Regions from separate parts of the Homo sapiens genome. Here region 1 is linked to region 2. The links are contacts of gene promoters, found by promoter capture Hi-C in blood cells and fetal thymus (Javierre and others, 2016). All regions are on one chromosome and are shown on one strand. Each heading gives the region's core, a stretch centred on a gene start or on the middle of the fragment in contact. The rest is flanking DNA. Distances are from core to core; before and after follow the strand shown.

Region 1 (5,676 bases), core at 2,398-4,897, 87 kb after region 2:
AGCGGGAGGGAAGGTCCAGGAAAAGAGCTGCTCGGTGTCCCCACCTCTTGTCAGTGCTGCCTGGTTGCCTGGTCAGTCCTGTCCCAGGCACTCGGAGGGAAGTCACACCTCACTCCCTTCAGAGGCGCCTTTCGTGAACTCAGCCAGTCAGTGCCAAAAAGGGGTGCCCCCGGGGTCACTGTCCTGAAACTTAGGCAAGTCACTCAGCTCAGGCCAGAACTCAGGGAGGACTCAAGTTTTGAGCTCTGAATTGGGGGTACAAGGAACAGCAGGAAGCACATGCGGCAGGTGGTTGCACCTTCCCAGGCCGTCGCTGCCCTCTGGTGGCCCCAGTGGACAGGTCCGGAGCCGTCTAGTGGCATATCATTCCAGTTCAAGCCCACATAGCCCATTCACTCTGTACATTGTTTTATTTCTTTCCCGTTTTTTTTTTTTTTTTTTTTTTTTGAGACAGAGTCTTGCTCCGTTGCCCAGGCTGAAGTGCAATGGCTCAATCTCAGCTCACTGAGGCCTCCGCCTCCTGGGTTCCAGCGATTCTCCTGCCTCAGCCTCCGGGGCAGCTGGGATTACAGGCTCCTGCCACCACACCCAGCTAATGTTTGTGTTTTTAGTAGAGACGGGGTTTCGCCATGTTGGCCAGGCTGGCCTCGAACTCCTGACCTCAGGTGATCCACTGGCCTCAGCCTCCCAAAGCATTACAGGCATGAGCCATCGCGCCTGGCCTAAATGTATAAATTTTTTTAATAAATTCATGTTTTTATAAATTTACATTTATAAATCCTTTTTCTTCAAAAATAAACCTTAGCTCACTGTAACTTTTTTTTATAAACTTTTTTATGTTTTTTAACTTTTGACTGTTAAAACACAAACACATCGTACAGCTATACAAAAAAAAAATTCTTTTTTGAGACAGGTTGTCACTCTGTTACTCAGGCTGTAGTGCAGTGGTGCAGTCTCGGTTCACTGCAGCCTTGACCTTCCAGGCTCAAGCAATCCTCCTGCCTCAGCCTCCCAAGGAGCTGGGACACAGATGCATACCATCACATTGGGCTAATTTTATTTTTTCTAGAGACGAGGTCTCACTATGTTGCCCAGGCTGGTCTCAAATTCCGGGCCTCAAGTGATCCTCCAGCCTCAGCCTCTCAAAGCATTGGAATTACAGGTGTGAGCCACCATGCCTGGCCTCCTATGTTATCTTTTAGAGTTTGATAGTTTTATATTTTACATTTAGGTCTGTGATCCATCTTGAGTTAATTTTTAGAAAGGGTGTAAGGTCTGTGTCTAAGGTCTTTTTTGTATGTGGATGTCCAGTTGATCCAGTATCATTAGTTGAAAAGACCATCTTTGCTCCATTGAATTGTCTTTGTCCTTTGTCAAAGACAAGTTGACTCTATTTATGTGGATCTATTTCTGAGATCTCACTTGTATGTCATAGATCTATTTCACTAATCTTTCATCAATATTACACTGTCTTGATTATTGTAACTTTATAGTAAATCTTGAAGTTGTATAGCATTATTTCTCTGACTTTATTATTCTCCTTCAATATTTTTGTTGACTATTCTGGGTCTTTTGCCTTTCCATATAAACCCTAGAATCAGTTTGTTGATATCTACAATATAACTTGCTGGGATTTGATTGGGATTGTGTTGAATCTGTAGATCAGGTCTGGAAAAACTGAAATCTTGCCAATGTTGAGTTTTTCTAGTCACAAACATGGATTATTTCTCAATTTATTTAGATCTTTTTTGATGTCTTTCAACAGAGTTTTGTAGTTTTCTTCATATAGATCTCGTACTTGGTTTGTTAGATTTGAACCTAAATCTTTCTTTCTTTTTGGTGCTAAATAATTTAAATGACAATTTGTTTTAAATTTCAAATTCCAATTGTTCATTATTGGTATGCAGGAAGGCAATGGATATTTTTATATTAATCTTGTATCCTGCAGGCTTACTATAATTGTTCAGCAGTTTTAGGACTTCCGTTGATCCTTTGGGATTTTCTACATAGACAGTCATGTAATGTACAAAAAAAAAAGATGGTTTTGTTTCTTCCTTTCCAATCTATTTACAATCAGCTCTTCATATATGTGGGTTCTGCATCCACGAATTCAACCAACCATGGATCAAACTATTTGGGAAAAGACAATTTTAAAAATACCACTTAAAAAACAATACAGCATAACAACTATTTTTCATAGCATTTTTAGGTAGTATAATCTAGAGGTAATTTAAAGTTTGTGGGAGGGTGTATGTAGGTTACATGCGAATACGACACCATTTTATATAAGGAACTTAAGGATCCATGGATTTGGGTATGAAAGACAGGTTCCTGGAATCAATTTTCCATAGACACCCAGGGACTGTGTTGTCTCTTTCCTTTTCTTGTTTTATTGTGTAAGCTAGGACATCGCAACAATGTTGAGTCTAAATGGTGTAAGAGGGGATGTCCTTGCCTTATTCCTGATGTTACCAGGAAAGCATCTACTTTCTCACTCTTAGTATGAGGTTAGCTGTAGGGTTTTGGTAAATATTTCTTATAAAATTAAGGAAATTACCCTTTGTTCCTGGTTTGTGGAGAGTTTTTTTTTTTTTTTTTTAGTCATGAATGAGTTTGAATTTTATCAAATACTTTTTCTGCATCTATTGATATGATCATATATTTTATTCTTTAGCATGTTCATGTGATAGATTGCATTAATTGACCTTCAAATGGTGAACCAGGCTTGCATGCCTGAAATAATACACTGCTGGATTTGATTTGCTAATATTTTGTTGAGGATTATTCTGTCTACGTTCATCAGTGATATCAGTCTATAGTTTTCCTTTCTTGTAATGTTTTTGGTTTTTATATTAGAGTAATACTGGCTTCGTAGGATGAGTTAGAAATTATTCTCTCTTCTTTTACATTCTAGAAAAGATTGTAGAGAATTGGTATAATTTCTTCCTTACATGTTGGTAGAATTCACCTGTGAATCTATTTGGGCCTGCTGCTTTCTGTTTTGGAAGTTGTTTTTGTTTTGTTTTGTTTTGTTTGTTTTTTTGAGACAGGGTTTCACTCTGTCACCCAGGCTGAGTGCAGTGGCACTATCATGGGTCACTATAGCTTCAAACTCCCAGGCTCAAGCGATCCTCCCACCTCAGCCTTGCAAGTAGCTGGGACTGCAGGCACATGTCACCATGTCCAGCTAATTTTTTTAGTTAGTGTGGAGACAGGGTCTCACTATGTTGCCCAGGCTGGTCTTGAACTCCTGGACTCAAGGGATCCTCCTGCCTCAGCCTCCCAAAGTGCTGTAATTACAGGTGTGAGCCACCATGCCTAGCTGGAAGCTTATTGATTAAAATTTAGCAGACTTAGTTCTATTGAGATTACCTATGTGTCTTCTGAGAGTCTGGATAGAGGAATTGATACAAGGAATTGATCCATTTTATCTAGGCTATCAAATGTGTGGACGTAGAGTTGTTCATAATAATCCTTTATTATCCCTTTAATGTTCATGGCATCACAATGGCCCATCTTTATTTTCTGGTGTTAGTATTGTTTCTACTGTCTTCCTTAGTCTGGCTAAAGGTTTGTCAAGTTTATTCATCTTTTCAAAGAATCAACTTTGGGGTTGATTTTCTGCTTTCAATTTCATTGATTTCTGTTCTAATTTTTATTATTTCTTTTTGTCTGCTTATTTGGATTTCTGTTCTAATTTTTATTTTATTATTATTATTTCTTTTCATTTGCTTATTTTGGATTTCTCTTTTTTCTAGTTTCCTAAGGTAAATTGGGAACTAGATTATTGATTTTAGGTATATCTTTTTTCTAATAGTAAATTCGAAACTAGATTATTGATTTTAGATATATCTTTTTTCTAATATGTTCATTCAGTGCTATGAATGTCCCCCATCACTGTTTTTACTGCATTCCACAAATTTTGAAAAGTTGTATTTGCATTTTTATTTAATTCAAACCACTTTTAAGCTTCTCTTGAGACCTATTCCTTGACCCATGTGTTATTTCGAAGTGTATTGTTTAATCTCCAAGGATTTTGGGATTTTCCGACTATCTGTTTCTTTTTTTTAATTTTAACTTCATTGTGGTCTTACAGCAAACTTTGTATGATTTCTAGTCTTATAAATTTGTTAAGGTATGTTTTATGGCCCAGAGTGTGGTGTATCCTGTTGAATGAGCTGCATGAATTTGAGAAGAATGCTTACTCTGCTGTTGTTAGATAAATTGTCTACAATGTCAATTACATCCAGTTGATTGATGGTTCTGCTCAGTACAACTATGACCTCACTGATATTCTGCCTGTTAGATTTGTCAATTACTGATATACTGGTGTTGAAGTCTCCAGCTATAACATGGAATTCATGTATTTCTCCTTGTATTCTATCTGTTTTTGCTTTATATTTTGATGCTTTGTTGCTGGGTGAATATACATGAAGAATTGTTTTGTCTTGTTGGAGAACTGACCCCTTTATAGCCATGTGATATCACCTAAACTCAACATGAGAAACATAGCTTCATATTGGGACATATAACAGTGAGCCAAATGGTGCTACCAATACAGAAGCAGCATAAGATACATCTTCTCACTCATGGGACTTAAAATCTACTTCACAATACAAAACTCAAAAAAAAAAAAAAATGAACACGCAAGGCAGTGCCTAATCAAGCAGGTCCCAGAGACGTTCAAAGAAGGGGAAGTCACAGAAGGAGGAAAGTGAGATCTTAGTGGATGGATAAGACAATGGGCAATGACAGGGCAATGAGCACAGTCCATTCAGAGACACTGGAAATTTCATTCTACAGTTTACTCACATTTATAATTTTGAACTATCACTCTGGTGTTGGGAGAAATTGACTTAAGGTAGGGCAGTGATTTATTTTAAAAATAACTATGCTACAATAGCTTTAAAATATTGGACCAGGCGGTCTACCCCAAATTACAAAAGAATTACCTATCAATTTGTTTATGAATTTATTGGTAGCCACACATTTTTTTTCTAGAAAAAAAGTTCCATGGAGTGTTTGGATATCAATCAGGCCACAGTATAACTGAAACTCTATTACCCTAGAAACACCCTGCCACACAGGACAGGACCATTTTGGAAAGCTATGAAGACTAGACACTTCTCCTCCCTCTAACTTCTCAGCCAGGACACCGTCTCTGTTCAAGGCCAATGGCGGTGGATTTCACCATGGTTGCCCTCCACAGCAAAGGTTGGCTGGCGAAGGTTTATGCAGCCATGTCTGGGGGCAGCAGTGGGGAAAGAAGAGCTCATTAGCACAGAACTGAGCTCATCTGCAAGAAGTAAACTTCTCTGTTGCTGGTAGTCAGGTCCACAGGAGAAGGTTCTAGGCCCTAGGGCCACAGTGGAAAGGTATTCACCAGGAGAATGACTCACAGGTTGTTCTTACTACAAAAATGCAAAAATTAGCCAGGCGTGGTGGTGCATACCTGTGATCCCAGCTACTCAGGAGGCTGAGGCAGGAGAGTCACTATAACCTGGGAGGCAGAGGGTGCAGTGAGCCAAGATTGCTCCACTGCACTCCAGCCTAGGTGACAGAGCGAGACTCCATCTCAAAAAAAAAAAAAAAAAAAAAAGAAAGGAAGAAAAAAAATCAGTACTTTAAGATGACTGCACAGAGTAGCTTGAATTTTGAGGACTCTTGTACTGTTTG
Region 2 (6,051 bases), core at 2,679-5,178:
AGTCGATTGAATTAAAGTTTAGTTGGTTGGATCATTTAACTGAAAAAAAGAGGTGGAGAGGCTATCTTATTTATGTTAAGTGTAATAAAGGTAATTATATGGGAAACCTGAGAGAGGAGACTATTGGTAATTTTGTCCATCTGTGGGTGGTGATGGTGATGGTGGGTGCTCCAGGCTTCCTCTTGGAGATGACATTTGTGCTGATCTTCAGGGATAGCACAGCGAAGGGCAGGACTTTCTAGAAAGAGTACGTCCAGAGGTAACAGTTATGAAAGGGCAACTTTTTTTTTAGATGAAGTCTTTCTGGGTCACCAGGCTGGAGTGCAGTGGTGCGATCTTGGCTCACTGCAACCTCCATCTCCTGGGTTGAAGCAATTCTTCTGCCTCAGCCTCCCGAGCAGCTGGGACTACAAGGCATGCACCACCACACCCAGCTAATTTTTTTTATTTTTATTTTTATTAGAGACGGGGTTTCACCATGTTGGCCAGGATGGTCTCGATCTCTTGACCTCGTGATCCACCCGCCTCGGCCTCCCAAAGTGCTGGGATTACAGGTGTGAGCCACTGCGCCTGGCCTGAAAGGGCATCTTCTATTCAGGCGCAGTGAAAAAGCTGGGTGAATGCTGCAGGGGTCCACCTATTAGAGACCTTAGAGGACAAACAAAGAGATTCTGATGTGGCTGTTACAAGGGAAGTTGGAGTTTTTCAAGTAGGAGAGTAATGTTATCAGATTCATTTTTTATGAAGATCTCTGAGGATATTGTATAGAAGTTAGACAAGAACAAGAATACAGGCATACCTCGGAGATACTGTGGGTTCAGTTCCAGACCACCACAAAGACAGTCACACAAATTTTTAAATTTTCTAGTGCATATAAAAGTTATGTTTATACTATACTATAGTCTAGTAAGTGTGCAGTAGCATTTTGTCTAAGAAAATAATGTGCATAATTTCATTAAAAATACTTAATTGCTAAATAATGCTAATGATCCTCTGAGCATTCAGTGAGCTGTGCTCTATTTGCTGGTGGAGGGTCTTGCCTCAGTGTTGATGGTTGCTGACTGATCAGGGTGGTGGTTGCCAAAGGCTGGGCCTGTGGCAGTTTCTTAAATCAATATTGAGTTTGTCACATTGATTGATTCTACCTTTCACGAAAGATTTCTTTGTAACATGTAATGCTGTTTGAATCAACTTCTTCCAAACTTCTGTTAATGTTGATATTTTACCTCCTCCCAAAAACTGTGAATGTCCTTCATGGCACCTACAGTGGTGAATGCCTTCCAGAAAAATTTCAATTTACTTTGCCCAGATCCATCAGAGAAATCATTACATACAGCAGCTATAACCTTTGGAAATGTATTTCTTAAATAATAAGACTTAAAAGTCAAAATTACTCCTTGATCTATGGGTTGCAGAATGGATGTTGTGTTAGCAAGCATGAAATCAACTTTAATCTCCTTGAGCATCTCCATCAAGCTCTTAGGTGACCAAGTGCATTGTTAATGAGTAATAATATCTTGAAAGGAATAATCAGAGCAGTAAGTCTCAACACTGGGCTTAAAAATATTCAGTAAACCATGCTGTAAACAGATGTGCTGTCCTCCAGGTTTTGTTGTTCCATTTACAGAGCACAGGCACAGTAGATTTAGCATAATTTTTAAGGGCACTAAGATTTTCAGAATGGTAAGTGAGCATTGGCTTCAACTGAAAGTCTCCAGCTACACTAGCCCCTAGCAAGAGAGTCAACCTGTCCTTTGAAGCCATGAAGCCAGGCATTGACTTCTCCTCTCTAGATATAAAAGTCCTAAATGGCATCTTCTTCCAATAGAAGGCTATTTTGTCTACATTGAAAATGTATTGTTTAGGGTAGCCTCCGTCATCAGTGCTCTTAGCTAGATCTTCTGGATAACCTGCTGCAGCTTCTCCATCACACTTGCTGCTTCACCTTGCACTTTATGTTATAGAGGTGACTTCCTTCCTCAGCCTCATGAACCAACCTCTGCTACCTTCAGACTTTTCTTCTGAAGCTTCCTCACCTCTCTCAGCTTCACAGAATTGAAGAGACTTAGGGCCTTGCCCTGGATTAGGCTTTGGTTTAAGGGAATGTCGTGGCTGGTTTGATCTTCTATCCAGACCACTAGAACTTTCTCCATATAAGCAATAAGGCTGTTTTGCTTTCTTATCATTCATATGTTTACCAGGAAAGCGCTTTCAGTTTCATTCAAGATTTTTTTCCTTTGCATTCACAACTTAGCTAACTGTTTGGCAAAAGAGGCCTAGCTTTTGGCCTATCCTGGCTTTTGACATACTTTCCTCACTGAGCTGAATCATTTCTAGCCTTTGATTTAAAGTGAGAGACGTGTGACACTTCTTTTCACTTGAACACTTAGAGGCCATTGTAGGGTTATTAATTGGCCTAATTTCAATATTGCTGTGTCTCAGGCACTAGGGAAGCCTAGGGACAGGAAGAGAGATGAAGGAACAGCCAGTCAGTGGAGCAGTCAGAACATACATAACATTTATCAGTTAAATCAATAAACGTCTTTGTCTTCTACTGCACACTTCGGAGTGCCCCCAAACAATTACAATAACCTCACAGAACGATGATCACAGATCACCATAGCAGATATCACAATGAAAAAGTCTGAAATATTGCAAGAATTACCAAAATGTGACACAGGAACACGAAGTGAGCACATGCTGCTGGAAAAATGGAGCCAGTAGGCGCTTGACGCTGTGTTGCCACAAATCTTCAATTTGTAAAAACAAAAACAAAACACACAGTATCCCAGAGCTCAATAAAATAAGATATTCTTGTATTCTGGTGATGGGGCAACAATGAGAAGGCTTTAGATTAAAAAAAATGCTAATTTCCTAGATTAAGGCAAGTGGTGGGGAATGGGAGAAAAAGGAAAGTGTGAAAGGCTCTTCTGTAATTGATTACCTGTGGAGGAACGTCATTCCAGGAAAAGGCCTAGGTTTCTGGCTTGGACAATTTGATGAGGGCTCACACCGTGCTGTTCTCCTCTGGATATGTGGGTGCCATATGTAATTATCATATGATTCACGCTTCTTGGTAAGGTTATGCTCACAGGCATTGTTGCTCTTAGGCGGGAGGAGGCTGAACCGCAGTATGTATTTCACAACCAGCTTTTCCAAACTAGGTCCCAGGAAGCACTGGTTTCGGCGAGTGTTACCAGATCTCCTGCAGGGGAGAAACGGTCACGAAACATGAACTGGTCTGCCCTGCTCTTGGAGAGTTACAGTGGAAACTGGCATGTTAGAGGCTCACAGTAAAGACACTGCTACACTTTAACTCAGTGTCCCATGGTTATTAGAGCTTAGAACCCGGGGGAAACTGCTGTATAGAAGAGGTCAAACAAGCTGAGTGCAGGTTTTGTCACGAAACTGGGGGGCGAGTAGGGTTCTATTATCAAAGAATGGTTGTGTTGGGGCCATAAGAAAGAATTACAGGCAGTGGTGCGCAGGTAATGTTCACGAGACGCCACAGCGGGGTAGCATCAGAGGCGGGAGGAGGAGGGTTGGAGAGCAGGGCCGTGTTGCAAGGCTCTCTGGGTGGCCACAGCAGCTTGCGCTGCGCCCACATTGCTTCTGCGTGTTTACAGTTGGGCACGAGAAGGCTCAGCACGCACGCACAGCAGGTGGGGGCCCGCCCTGCCCACAGCGTGAAAACAGGAGCCCCGGCCAGCCACGGCTGGGCAGGGCCAGAAGCGCCTCCTCCAGGATCCTCCCCGCGCTGGCCCGCCCCACAGGAGCACCGCCCCTACCAGGAGCCCGGAGCTCTTCCCAGGGCCCGCCTCCCCGCCAGGGGGCGATCCACCTCCACTTCCTGTTTCCGCAGCCGCCCTACCAGGAGCCTGGCACTCTCCTCAGGGCCCGCCTCCCCGCCAGGGGGCGCACCGCCTCCACTTCCTGTGTCCACGGCTGTCGCGAGAGCCCGGGGCGAGTGGGCCTCTGCTCGTGGGTGGTTCTCGTGGAGGTCAGCTCCCGCGTGTCTCCGCTCGACAGGGTGCTTGGGCAGGTAAGGGTCCGCTCAGTAGCCCAACCCTCTCTGTATGCAGCTCCCCAAATTCAGCGCTGCGCTCAGGCATGGCAGCCACCCGTTACGTGGGGCCGTTCGCATTTGCATTTATTGAGGTCAAATAAAATGCTGGAAATTGGTGCCTGGTGACACTGTCAGGTTGGTGGTTACCCTAGCAGGTCGGCCCAGCCCCTGAACGCTTCCATCACTGCCGAAAGCCCTGTGAGGAGGCGCAGAGCTGAGCATTCCCCGCCGTTGCGTGGGCCCCCCTCTACCTGCCGCGTTTTTCCTCTTTGCTGCAGAGCCCATCGGGTAGGCGCGGGCCATGGCGCAGTACAAGGGCACCATGCGCGAGGCAGGCCGTGCCATGCACCTCCTCAAGAAGCGCGAAAGGCAGCGGGAGCAGATGGAGGTGCTGAAGCAGCGCATCGCCGAGGAGACCATCCTCAAGTCGCAGGTGGACAAGAGGTTCTCGGCGCATTACGACGCCGTGGAGGCCGAGCTGAAGTCCAGCACGGTGGGCCTGGTGACCCTGAACGACATGAAGGCCCGGCAGGAGGCCCTGGTCAGGGAGCGCGAGCGGCAGCTGGCCAAGCGCCAGCACCTGGAGGAGCAGCGGCTGCAGCAGGAGCGGCAGCGGGAGCAGGAGCAGCGGCGCGAGCGCAAGCGTAAGATCTCCTGCCTGTCCTTTGCACTAGACGACCTCGATGACCAGGCCGACGCGGCCGAGGCCAGGCGCGCCGGAAACCTGGGCAAGAACCCCGACGTGGACACCAGCTTCCTGCCAGACCGCGACCGCGAGGAGGAGGAGAACCGGCTCCGAGAGGAGCTGCGCCAAGAGTGGGAGGCGCAGCGCGAGAAAGTGAAGGACGAGGAGATGGAGGTCACCTTCAGCTACTGGGACGGCTCGGGCCACCGGCGCACGGTGCGGGTGCGCAAGGGCAACACGGTGCAGCAGTTCCTGAAGAAGGCGCTGCAGGGGCTGCGCAAGGACTTCCTGGAGCTGCGCTCCGCCGGCGTGGAGCAGCTCATGTTCATCAAGGAGGACCTCATCCTGCCGCACTACCACACCTTCTACGACTTCATCATCGCCAGGGCGAGGGGCAAGAGCGGGCCGCTCTTCAGCTTCGATGTGCACGATGACGTGCGCCTGCTCAGCGACGCCACCATGGAGAAGGACGAGTCGCACGCGGGCAAGGTGGTGCTGCGCAGCTGGTACGAGAAGAACAAGCACATCTTCCCCGCCAGCCGCTGGGAGGCCTATGACCCCGAGAAGAAGTGGGACAAGTACACCATCCGCTAACACCCGCCTGCCAGAGCGGAAACCGGGGGTGGGGGGAGACACTCATTTCTAGGCCCCATCACCAGTCACTTGATTTCGTGACCTTGATTTCTTCCCCCAAATTTAATAAAGACAGAGGGTTCTCATGATTCACATTGGTTGTGCTATTGCTGATGTTATGCTTTGGTTGCTTGGTTGGTCTTTTCTGAGTATTTTAGTGTTGCCACCTGGATTTGCTGCATTGCTCTGCTGAGCTGTATTGAAACCATGACTGGGCCCACTGTCAGACAGAAATTAGAATAGGAGGCACATTTTTTACCTGGTGGTTATGAGCATGGACTTGGGGGCCACAGTGACTGAGTTTGATTCCCGACACAGCCTCCTCCTTGCTGTGTAGTTTTGGGTAAGCTTATTAAACCCCCATGCCTCAGTTTGGTCACCTGTAAAAGGAAATAACAAGAGCACTTACTTTATAAGATTGATGTGAGTATTAAGTGAATTAATATTTGTAAAACGCTTAGCTCTTAATAAATGTTTCTGTTGTTATTATTATGGTTTTGGTTAATTTATTTAAAGGACTGCAATGACCTAGTTCAGAACCATTTGAGGGCAAAGGTGGACCTGCCCATCACTGGTCCCAGGATCAGCAGTTGCCAGCAGGAGGGGGCTAGCAAAGGTTGGGGAGCAGCCCCCCTCTAGTGGGCTTTAGCTGGGTTGTTTAGCCCAG

Evidence for each region. The method cuts DNA at HindIII sites, captures the fragments that hold promoters and counts their contacts. A CHiCAGO score of 5 or more calls a contact.
Region 1: a contact is called between a fragment that was not itself captured here and the fragment with the promoter of FAM50B in region 2, in 1 of 17 cell types (endothelial precursors). The highest score is 5.3, in endothelial precursors.

Annotation. Positions count from the first base shown.
Region 1 is chr6:3,932,961-3,938,636 of GRCh38, forward strand. No RefSeq gene overlaps it. Among named protein-coding and RNA genes, the nearest start is that of TGILR, 24 kb to the left of the region's middle. RefSeq lists enhancers at 1-152, 153-653. The HindIII fragment of the contact is 640 bases long and covers 3,328-3,967 here.
Region 2 is chr6:3,845,445-3,851,495 of GRCh38, forward strand. It overlaps FAM50B (family with sequence similarity 50 member B), which reads left to right and starts at 3,929. Exons shown (of 2, transcript NM_012135.3): 1 at 3,929-4,042; 2 at 4,345-5,873. The coding sequence starts at 4,368. The coding sequence ends at 5,345. LOC107986557 (a long non-coding RNA gene) reads right to left here and starts at 3,922. Exons shown (of 3, transcript XR_001743931.2): 1 at 3,872-3,922; 2 at 2,945-3,205; 3 at 1-648. RefSeq lists a silencer at 3,603-3,722 and an enhancer at 3,993-4,112. The HindIII fragment of the contact is 3,705 bases long and covers 2,026-5,730 here.